Linked DNA regions of Homo sapiens: region 2 is linked to region 1. Evidence: promoter capture Hi-C in human tissues and cell types (Jung and others, 2019). All regions are on one chromosome and are shown on one strand. The core of a region is centred on a gene start or on the middle of the fragment in contact, and the rest is flanking DNA. Distances in the headings are between cores, read along the strand shown.

Evidence for each region. The method cuts DNA at HindIII sites, captures the fragments that hold promoters and counts their contacts. A contact is called where the count stands out against the background at its distance.
Region 2: a fragment that was not itself captured here is called in contact with the fragment with the promoter of GPR45 in region 1 in 4 of the 25 tissues and cell types used here (H1 embryonic stem cells, bladder, neural progenitor cells and 1 more).

What each region holds. Positions count from the first base shown.
Region 1 is chr2:105,237,727-105,243,453 of GRCh38, forward strand. GPR45 (G protein-coupled receptor 45) reads left to right here and starts at 4,017. Exons shown (of 1, transcript NM_007227.3): 1 at 4,017-5,727. The coding sequence starts at 4,133. The coding sequence ends at 5,251. The HindIII fragment of the contact is 15,889 bases long and covers 200-5,727 here.
Region 2 is chr2:105,071,665-105,077,753 of GRCh38, forward strand. The region is part of intron 4 of MRPS9 (mitochondrial ribosomal protein S9); the gene reads left to right. Among named protein-coding and RNA genes, the nearest start is that of MRPS9-AS1, 28 kb to the right of the region's middle. The HindIII fragment of the contact is 4,140 bases long and covers 1,234-5,373 here.

The sequences.
Region 1 (5,727 bases), core at 2,767-5,266:
CAAAAGCCTGGACGGGAGGTGTATGTGGACCAGGAAGTGCCAGCTTAAATGGAAGGAAACGGAGGGAACACAGCTCAAAAGCGTAGCCAAGTGGTGCTTTGCTATACTATGTTATCTCTTTTTGCATGTTTGAAATTTAACATAATAAAAAGACTTTTAAAGTTGGCAAAAGAAAAAGGGGAAGAGAACAAAGAAAGATAAAAGAAAGAAATGAGAGAGAAAAAGAAGGAAGGAAAAAAGAGAGAAGTAAGGAAGGAAAAAAGGAAGGAAGGAAGGAAGGAAGGGAGGGAGGCAGGAATGGAGGGAGGGAGGCAGGAAGGGAGGGAGGGAGGGAGGAAGAAAGGCTTTGGCAGGCCAGACACTGATACTTCCTAGCCTCCCGAGGCTGCCCCAGCGCGCCCCCTGGTGGTCGCACATAGAGTTGTCCTATTTGGAGAGCAAAGACAAAGGTTCTTTCCCTCATCCTCACTAAGTTCTTTTTTTTTTTTTTTTTTTTTTTTTTTTTTTTTTTTTGAGACGGAGTCTCGCTCCGTCGCCCAGGCTGGAGTGCGGTGGCGCGATCTCGGCTCACTGCAAGCTCCGCCTCCCAGGTTCACGCCATTCTCCTGCCTCAGCCTCCCGAGTAGCTGGGACTACAGGCGCCGGCCACCACGGCTGGCTAATTTTTTGTATTTTTAGTACAGGCGGGGTTTCACCATGTTAGCCAGGATGGTCTCGATCTCCTGACCTCGTGATCCGCCTGCCTCGGCCTCCCAACATGTTGGGATTACAGGCGTGAGCCACCGCGCCCCGCTGAAGGTCAGTTTTTAGAAGCCCATTCTTTATCTACTGGGAAAGGAGAACAGAGTGGGATTTTGTTTGAAATTTGTCTGTACCTCAACTGGTGTAGCTTGGGGGTGGGAGGATGGTTTTTCTTTTCCCTATGCTTGTCAGTGTCACAGACGTGAAGTCATCCTCCCCAAGCCACCGTCCTCACCACAGAACCATCTTTCTGTTGGAGTCTCAGCTTCCAGTCTCGGCTCCACTGGTCACTACTTTGCTGAACTGGGGCTTGTCGTGACTGTATCTGAGCTTCCCTTTCATAATTTCCCTGCCTTCTTGCCAGGCGTGAGGATGCAGAGGGAAGGCTTTAGAAAACCTTGCAGTAAACACAATGCATGGGTGGCCTCGTGTCCGCTTTGCTGAAAGCGCCTTCTATCTTTTGCGTGGACACAGCTCACTGAAGCCTCTGCCAGAGCACAGCTAGCCACACCATGGCACACAGCAGCACACAGCCTGGTCACACTTTCCTTAGTTGATTAATCACACTTCAGTCAGAGATGAAGATTTACCTCCTGACACTTGCACAGCCTCCCAGTTCCAGGGTGAGATCATTTGGAAAGGAACTAAAACAAATACCTTGAAACGGTTCAGTTCCCAGCTCGCTTCTTTCACAGCTTTAAATTCATATTGTGGCACCCATTTCTCATCGTGAAAGTCGCTGGAGACGGTGAGTGCTGTTACTCCAAGAACACCAGCAGAATATTTCTTGTTCACTTGTTACCTTTTACTTAGATCTTAGTGCCCTAGTCCCTTGTAATAAAAGCACTGTTGATTCAGATATTAACAACAGGACTGTGACCAAAATGCTAAATTAAAATACCTAAGACAGGTTGTTGTCCAGAAGCCAAAAGAATTTTAATCAGATTCAACCACAAGACATATACATTAAAAAAAATACCTTGCACTATTTGTTCCTTTAATTAAGCATGAAATCACTCTCTGTAACTATCATTGTGGGGAAAATCTAAGTTTATAGCATGGAGAGGAATGCAGATGAAGGATTCACTATCGGCTAAGATTGACAGGCACATGGATGCACGATACTGTGTTTTTTCTCAGTGGTCCTTTATTCTGTGCTCCAAGAGGAGCTTAATCCATTAGGGCTTCCTACATGCATGTCATGGTTCCTGCCATGAACAAATTTGCAGTTTAATCCAAGAGACAGAAACCCCTAAACTTGAAACAGTGAGGGAGATGGAGTTAATTTATTAATGCCCTTCTTTTACCAGACATTGCACATTATATTTACCAACTCTGGAGGTAAATATGTAATTACCTCCATTTCACAGATCAGAAAATTGAGATGAAGAAGGGTCATAATTTTGGTCTGAATGAGAGATAATTCCCACTTATAAATTAACACACCAGGTTTCTGATTTTTATAGCTCAGAAAAAGTTTGGATACTGGTGCCCACCACTGAGAGATGAACCCATTCTGGGTGTGTTTGGGAAGGAAGACCAAGGATTGGTTGGGTCTAAACTGAAGTATAGCATCACCAAGACACTGCCACTCCCAGGTCCTCTAAGCCTGCTCTGAGGCCTCCTGGCTTCTTACATTGCCCACATTCCTCTCAGTGTGAGTTATCTGTAACAATGACCACAAGGAATTTAGAAAAGAGAAATTTCTTACAAGAAGAGGTGCATCCAACAGCCAGATGTCCAGGGTGGATAAATGGCGCAGGCTGGATTTCCCCCAGCCCAGGCGATGTGACTTCAGACCTGAGCTACTGAACACACTCTTGCCACATCAGTGAGACAAAATTAAAATTATATTTATCTTTTTGAAAGTGAAAGCAAGTTTATCAAGAATGTAAGGAATAAAAGCTCATTTCATTTACTTTTTTTTTAAGAGACAGGGTCTCACTCTGTTACCCAGGCTGGAGTACAGTGACACCTTCTTAGCTCACGACAGCCTCGAACTTCTGTGCTTGAGCAATCCTCCTGCCTCGGCCTCCTGAGTAGCAGGGACTATAGATGGAAGCCTGGCTCATTTTTTTGTGTGTGTAGAGATGGGATCTCTCTATGTTGCCCAGGCAGGTCTTGAACTCCTGGCCTCAAGCAATCCTCCTGTCTCTGCCTCTCAAAGTGCTGGGATTATAGGCATGAGCCACTGCACCCAGCTAACATTGTATTTTAAAAGGCCTTACCTTTGGGGAAAGTTCCCTTCTCCCAGTCTGTGCTTCCAGAAGTAATAGTATAGCAGCCCCACAGTTATCCAAGATGTTACCATTAGGGAAAACTGGGTGAAGGACACACAGAATTTCACCATAGTATTTATTATTATAACTCCATGTGAATTTACACTTATCCATGTGAATTTACACTTATCAAATAAAGTTAAACAAACAGACTTACAATTTCTTTTAAAAAATTAAAACTTAAAAATGTATACTTAAAATTTGCTAAGAGGGCAGATCTTAGGTGAAGTATTCTTACCACCAAAACAAAATGATAATACTAGAAAAATGGCAGGAGAGAGCTTTGGCAGGGGGAGTGGGATATGTTTTTGGCCTTGGTGGTGATGGGTTTCTGGTATATTGAGATGTAAATTTGTACAGCTTTTGACATGTCAGTCATTCCTCGATGAAGTGGGGTTTTTTAAAGCTAAACAAATATTATAGCAGCAGCATCAACTATCACTTATTCATCTACTCAACAAGCATCCAAGTGTCCTCAACAAGGACACTTACTGCATGCCAGCCACTGTTGTCAGTACTGGGAGATAGCAGAGAATGAAACAAGCAAAACCTTTCTCTTGTGGAGCAGGATTCTAACGTTAGTTGGCTAGACCAAGGCTTCATTCCGACAGGTTGCTGAAAACTCAAGTTATTACATAAACACTAACTACAAAGTGTACTTCCTCAGTTTCCTCAGAAGATAGCTGATTAGGTTTTTCTGGGCTGCTTGACAAGACTCAGACAGTATTTGTGAATATCAAGCTTTGTCCCACGTGGTAAATAAACTTGTTTAGAAACACCTGTAAAGCTTAAACGCGTGCTTTCTTCAACGCGTTTGGAAACTCTAACCCCCTTCTCTTTTGTACTTTTGCTTGCTGTCCACTACAGAGGGTCCAAGCACGAAGCTGTGCACAGAGTCGCTCTCCACAGAGATGCTTAGGATGTGATCCATGAATCGCAAATCCCAGCTAGTGCTCACAAAGACGGACATTTCTCCCCAAGACCATTCCAGTGCCCCAGAGGTCCACAGACATCCAGGAAGATGCAGCCAGCAGACAAAGAATGGCAGCCACCCAAGTGCTGAGGGGAGCCCTCCCGGCCATTTCTGTCCCAGCTCCAAGGGTCTCTCCACGATGGCCTGCAACAGCACGTCCCTTGAGGCTTACACATACCTGCTGCTGAACACCAGCAACGCCTCAGACTCGGGGTCCACCCAGTTGCCCGCACCCCTCAGGATCTCCTTGGCCATAGTGATGCTGCTGATGACCGTGGTGGGGTTCCTGGGCAACACTGTGGTCTGCATCATCGTGTACCAGAGGCCGGCTATGCGCTCGGCCATCAACCTGCTGCTGGCCACCCTGGCCTTCTCCGACATCATGCTGTCCCTCTGCTGCATGCCCTTCACCGCCGTCACCCTCATCACCGTGCGCTGGCACTTTGGGGACCACTTCTGCCGCCTCTCAGCCACGCTCTACTGGTTTTTTGTCCTGGAGGGCGTGGCCATCCTGCTCATCATCAGCGTGGACCGCTTCCTCATCATCGTCCAGCGCCAGGACAAGCTGAACCCGCGCAGGGCCAAGGTGATCATCGCGGTCTCCTGGGTGCTGTCCTTCTGCATCGCGGGGCCCTCGCTCACGGGCTGGACGCTGGTGGAGGTGCCGGCGCGGGCCCCACAGTGCGTGCTGGGCTACACGGAGCTCCCCGCTGACCGCGCCTACGTGGTCACCTTGGTGGTGGCCGTGTTCTTCGCGCCCTTTGGCGTCATGCTGTGCGCCTACATGTGCATCCTCAACACGGTCCGCAAGAACGCCGTGCGCGTGCACAACCAGTCGGACAGCCTGGACCTGCGGCAGCTCACCAGGGCGGGCCTGCGGCGCCTGCAGCGGCAGCAACAGGTCAGCGTGGACTTGAGCTTCAAGACCAAGGCCTTCACCACCATCCTGATCCTCTTCGTGGGCTTCTCCCTCTGCTGGCTGCCCCACTCCGTCTACAGCCTCCTGTCTGTGTTTAGCCAGCGCTTTTACTGCGGTTCCTCCTTCTACGCCACCAGCACCTGCGTCCTGTGGCTCAGTTACCTCAAGTCCGTCTTCAACCCCATCGTCTACTGCTGGAGAATCAAAAAATTCCGCGAGGCCTGCATAGAGTTGCTGCCCCAGACCTTCCAAATCCTCCCCAAAGTGCCTGAGCGGATCCGAAGGAGAATCCAGCCAAGCACAGTCTACGTGTGCAATGAAAACCAGTCTGCGGTTTAGGGGGTCAGGGGGCCACAGAGAAGGGGCAGCTGAGCCCCAGTCCCAGGGTGGATCTGTCCTGCTCTGTTCCCTGGCATGTTGGTCATAGTCTGCACTTTGTGGTGGCAATTTAAGCACAAAGGTACTCATTTGTAATCAGATGAGCTGCAGCTCCCAAATTTCAAATTTTGGCACGATGAATTATTTTTGTTTCTCTTTGCAGAGAGCCAAATATGGGGCTGATGGGAACTGCAACGTCATTAAGTCAAAAATGGAGTGGGCTGGGGAGTGCAGAAGTTGGGCAGAAAGGGAGGAGGAGGGCAACAGGGAATGAAGCTGGTTGAGTGTGGGGCAGGAGGACTGGTCAGTCACAAGAGCTTCAACCTGCCCTGCGAGCCCTCTCTGCACCTGCTCAAGAGAAACCCTGAGAAACCCCAGTAGGTGTGAGCTCCTGGGTGTTCATTCATTTTGTTTGACACCAGGGTTCTTCAGCTATT
Region 2 (6,089 bases), core at 2,054-4,553, 170 kb before region 1:
TAAATTAAATACTAAAATTAGATGTGTTTAGAGCTTAGGACTATACCAATGTCATACTAATTATTTGCATTCCAATATGTCCTTTTGAGGGAGAGTTTGGTACAGATCTGCTGGCAACTAATTCAACTTCTGTTTATATGAAAATTTAAAACTTTTCTTGATTTTGGAAGCACATTTTCACTGACTGTAGATTTTCTTTTCTGTTCTTTCAATACTTTAATGATGTAATTCCATTGTCTTGTCTTACATAGTTTCTAATGAGCAATTAGCCATCATTCTAATTGTGTCTCCTGTTTTCTCTGGCTTCTCTTAAGATATTCTCTTTATCTTTTAAATGTGTAAAAAAAAAAAATTGAAGAAAATACACAGCAAGCTTTAAGGTTGTCAAGAAATTGAATAATATATTTACTATACATTAGAAACCTCTTATCCAGTGAGGACCAGTAGTTCTCTGTTAACTTAAAAAGTATTAAAGCTAGAAATCATTTCTTTAAAAAACACTCAAAATGTAACCTGTACTTACCCATCAAGCTTTTGCTGTGACCCTAGAGGTTTGGTGGTTTTGAGTGTGTCTGCTGCTCCCCGTTGCTTTTATGTAACCATGCTGCTGATGCATCATCGCAGTCTTTCAGTTTTGATTTTCTTGCAGTGGAGCAGTGAACTTACACTTCCTAAGAAATCTGAGTGCAGAATATTTTTGTATTTCTACAGATTCTTCCCATCAACCTTACTGAAGTTGACACAACTTTTTTTTTTTTTAGCAACTTGCCTTTCTAGAGCATTCAACCTAGTTTTCTTAGAAGTAGCAACTTTTATGTTTGCACTCATATTTAATTTATTTATGTAATACTTAATTCATGTATTTATAGAAATAAGTACAACTGTAATAAAATAGGCTTGGGAGTAAACATAACTATTAGTAAGCATGAAACTCAGCAGCAAAAATGTGTGGATCTACTTGAGAATAGCTTGGTGGCCACAGGTTCTCAATACGCAGGCCGCTTTATCAGTGTGTTTAGAATTAAATAGAAATTGGTAAGATAGCAGATATTTCTATAGAAGACTTATTTATTTTGCAGTGGTATTTCTGCTAAGTCATATTTTTATTCAAAGCTAGGCATTTATTCTCTTATTCCAGTTCACTCTTGGAAATGATAACTTTTAGTTTGAATCTTATTATAAATGTTTTGAATCTTTTTATAAATATGCTCTATCATTTGTATTCCCTCAGTTCTTAATCATGGTTGATTATAAATTATACCATCGATTTAATAATAGCTTTTGGGGAAATAATAAATGAAGACTATGTTAAAAATGCACATCACTTTTGCAGATACAACTCAGTGTTACAGAAGTAAAACTATGCACAGGGCACAGTAACTTACATTAAACACCTAGTAGCTTTTCGGTAAATGTTTGTAATGACAGTGATTTTTTTTTCTTCTTCTTCTTTACTAACTCTTCTATTTTTTTAAACCTCTCAGGCTCCTCACCTATTTCTCTCTCTCTTTGTTCTTTATATCTCTACTAGTTGCATCTCTTCTTATACATCTGCCCCTCTAAGACTGGTTTGTTCTTTCAAATCATACCAGCTTCTCAGTATTAGAAGTTTATTGTTACTAGCAGCCAGGTTGTGACAACTGAAACTTCTATATATCCCTGCAAAATGCCCATGTGTTATTTTGAAAATATGTCACTCCTGGTAGGATTATCTTAAGTTGTAGTTTACTATATGTAACTGTATGTAAACAGTACTCCTCTAGAATTAGTAAAATTTTTTTGTTGCTTACCTACCTACCTCCCAATTTTGTTGTATTTCATAAATATAGGATAAACTGATTTTTTTGTATGCTAAAAAAGTAACAGTGAATTTTAGATTTGGATAGATTTTGACACTTATAGTGTACTAACACTTTCCTTATTAAAAGATGGAAGCTTCTAGATTGAGTTAACATGAAATCTTGCTCTGTATGTTTTAAAGCAAGTGATAAAAATATTAAGTGAAACAAAGATGACTACTGGGTCAACAGGAGCAAAGAGTAGCACTCATATTAGACAAAATGGAATTCAAGGAGTGTGAGGAATACTTCAACGAAGCAAGAATGTTAATTTATGTTGATAAAACCTAATCTCCATTGAGTAGATTTGATGACCACAAACCTTTTTGCACCAACATTTAGCATCGAAATGTTCAAAACAAAAGCCGTTAACTTAAGGCTATAACGAATTTGAATAACACAGCATGATTTTATAGTTACAGATACAAAGAATACATTTTCTATGCAGAGGCCTATGGACTATTAATAGAATTATGATGTAATTGGACATAAAGAAAACCTAACGAATTCCAAGTAGTAAAAATCATATCATTCGATTTTTCTGAGTTAAGATCAATAGAACCATATGACTGTTGAGTTAAAGAGAAAATCAAAATTGAGGTTACAGACATGACAATGACAACAGTTCCTATTAAATCCTATGGAATATGGACATTGTATTATACAGAGACAAGCATATATTTGTTAGAAATTAAGAAAGACTGAATATAAATGAACTAAATTTTCGGTTCAGGAAGCCAGAAAAAGAAAAATAGAATAGAGGAACATAGCGAAGAAATTGAAAAGAAGGGGTATGATAAACAAAACCATGTCATTCTTTGAAAAAGCTAGTGAAATCAATCAACTTCTAGCAAATCTGGCCAGGGAAAAAAGAGAAAACATAAGAGGACAATATTAAGAATTGTAAATAATAATATTCAGAGGGTAATTTTAAAGTATGCAGTTGTTATGGGTAACTTTATTCTAACTTGAAAAATCTCTCAAGTAAGAATTGTTAGCATTTATTGAAACAGAGTAGGCCAGGCATAGTTCTAAGTGCTTCCTGTGTGTTAACTTACACTCTTCACAACAGGTTTTTTAAGTAGATACTGTAATTTTCCCCACTGCACAAATGTAGGAATTAAAAGCACATGGAGTTTAACTTACCAAGGACGTAACAGCCAGGAAATAGTTGAGCCAGAATGTAGGGAGGCCCAGGCAGTTGTGGCACACACACATATGTATGACCACCAGACTCAACTGACTCTCAGACATGTAGTTGAAAGAATAATATAATTGCCACAGTTGTCTCAATCAGGAGAATAGTGGTTAAACCGGTGGTCCCCAGCCTTTTTGGCGCCAGGGACCAATTTTGTGAAGGACGATTTCACGGACCAGGGGTTGGGGGATGGTTTCGGGATGATTCAAGCTCATTACATTTATTGTGAGCTTTATTTCTATTATTACATTGTAAGATATAATGAAATAATTATACAACTCACCGTAATGTAGAATCAGTGTGAGGCCTGGGCTTGTTTTTCTGCAACTACATTGTCCCATGTGGTGTTGATGGGAGACAGTGACAGATCGTCAGGCCTTAGATTCTCATAAGGAGCATGCAACCTAGATCCCTCGCATGTGCTGTTCACAATAGGGTTCACGCTCCTATGAGAATCTAATCGCACTGTTGATCTGACAGGATGTGGCACTCAGGCGGTAATGTGAGCAATGGGGAATGTCTATAAATACAGATGAAGCTATGCTGGTCTGTGGTCTAGGGGCTGGGGACCCCTACTGTAGAACCAAGTGCTCTTACTGCGAAACACCCACTCTGGTCCCAGTTGACCAGTCATGACAGCAAATACAAATCAATAGAACCTGGTACCTGTCTGTGGCCCAGGGGTTGGGTACCCCTGTGTTAATCTAAAAGCTGCAGAAGTTATAAAGGAGCGCCAAAGGTCTAATGAGAAAGGCCCAGGCCTAGAAGGTTTTGTCGGGAAGCTCTGACATACCTTGAAGGAGGATGTAACTATTGTTATCATTTAAACTTGTAGAGCAGAAGAAAAGAATGAAAGCTTCTAAATTCCCTTCAGAGGGTCACACAATTATCAAATCTGGACATAAATTTCATGAAAAAGAAAGCTATAGTCTGTTGTCACTAAATAAAACACTAGCAAACCAAGTAAAGCTTTATATTAAGAGAGTATACCAGAGGGCCTTTTTTTCTCTCCAGGAAAATAAGGATGATTTATGTAATTCTCTGTGTTAATTGAGTCAAGGTTAAAACATTTCAATAAAAAAGTTAATTAACAAAATTGAGCATTAATTTTTTTGGTAAAAACACAACCTAGAAATAAAAAGAAACTTTCTTAGTTTGAGAAAGCATATCAAGACAAACAGAAACACATCAAATTTAAAAATATATCAATAGATCCCATTAAGTTCAGGAATAAGACAGTTATGTGCATACTCGCCTGTGTTATTTGGCATTGTTTTGGAAGTTTTACCTAGCATGGTTAAAAAAAAAAGTGTGGCTAAAAAAGTATGAATTAGAAAACTGAAAGAAATTAGGAAAATCGATTATTATTCACAGATGTTATGACTGCCTACTTAGAAAATAGAAAACATTCACTAAAAACTATATTAGAATTTCAGCAGACTACCATTATTTGGGTACCTGAATTCAAAACATTTAAACTATGAATTGTTCTGAAAATTTTAAAAATGATACCCTCTTATAAAAGCATGCCACAGTATAGTTACTGGGCGAAATGCTGATCCTGCAGAGATCATATGAGCATCCTGTCAGTTGATGACTCTGTGGCAGCCACATCTACACACAAAGAAATCAGTGTGGAATGGCATGTAATGATGAACTAAATAACATGATGGTCTTACTGGTAGCAAATGAATTGCAATCTTTCACTTCCTTTATGTATTTTGGCAGACAAGAACTGTTTTAAAAACGCTGAATTCCAACTATACAAATACATACCTACATATTCATACAGACACATACATACGTATATACATACATGTACCTCCTTTTTCTCAATTCATTTAATGGAATGCTGAAAAATAGACTATGCAGAAGATAACAGAGTTTGGTCAAGACTTTAAAAATTATTGTGTGTTTTTGGAGTTAAGAAATTCAAACTCTAGAACAGAAATAAGGTGGCTAGTTGAAGAATATACATACAGCTTTCAATACTTTTAAAGTAATAGATATTATGTCCTTAAAATCACAAAAACTAAAGGACAAAGATGACAAATTACTTATGTTGAAGTTAAAAATTTCTCTTTGACAAAGACACTAGGAAATTTGAAACATGCCAGAGGCCTGATACCTAGAATAAATTACTCACAAATTAACAAAAGCAGCTTACTAGAGAAATGAGCAAAGGCAAATAAGCAATTCATAAATAGAAAAAATTAAAGTACCAGTAAGCATTTGAAAATATCAGAGATCAGAAATAACATCTTATGGATGGGCATGGTGGCTCACCCCTGTAATCCCAGCACTTTGGGAGGCCGAGGCAGGTGGATCACAAGGTCAGGAGTTCAAGACCAGCCTGGCCAACATGGGGAAACCCCATCTCTACTAAAAATACAAAATAGCCGGGCGTGGTGGCGCACGCCTGTAGTCCCAGCTACTCGGGAGGCTAAGGCAGGAGAATCACTTGAACCCAGGAGGTGGAGGTTGCAGTGAGCCAAGATTGTGCCACTGCACTCCAGCCTGGGCAATAGAGGGAGACTCCATCTCAAAAAAAAAAAAGAAGAAGAAAAGAAATAACATCTTGTAAAACAATAATGAGAGACAATTATCACAATCATCAGGTTGGAAATTGTAAATATTGTATCAGCAACAAATTGGAAAAAGTCTAAATGTTCATCATAGGGTAGCTAAATAAACTCATGCTGTGGAATAATATACAGGCCGTAAAAAGAGTGAGATAGAGCTAGTTGTGCTAGTAGAGGTGTAACTTTGAGTGGAAAAAGCAAGTAAAAAAATGGTGTATGTAGCATAAATACAGTTTAATACCGTTTATATCTTTAAAAGAACCACACAAACAACCCTATTTCATGCAGGCATACATAGGTAAATGCACAGAGAGTCCAGAACAATAAACTCCCGCCTTGTTCTGGCAACGGAATTTTAACATGTGATCTGGGAAGTATGTGTTACTTGTGTAAAATTATGTTTTTATTATAGATAACTGAATAGGGGAGGGCAGTATCAAGAGAAACAGAAACTAAAATACACAAATAAGA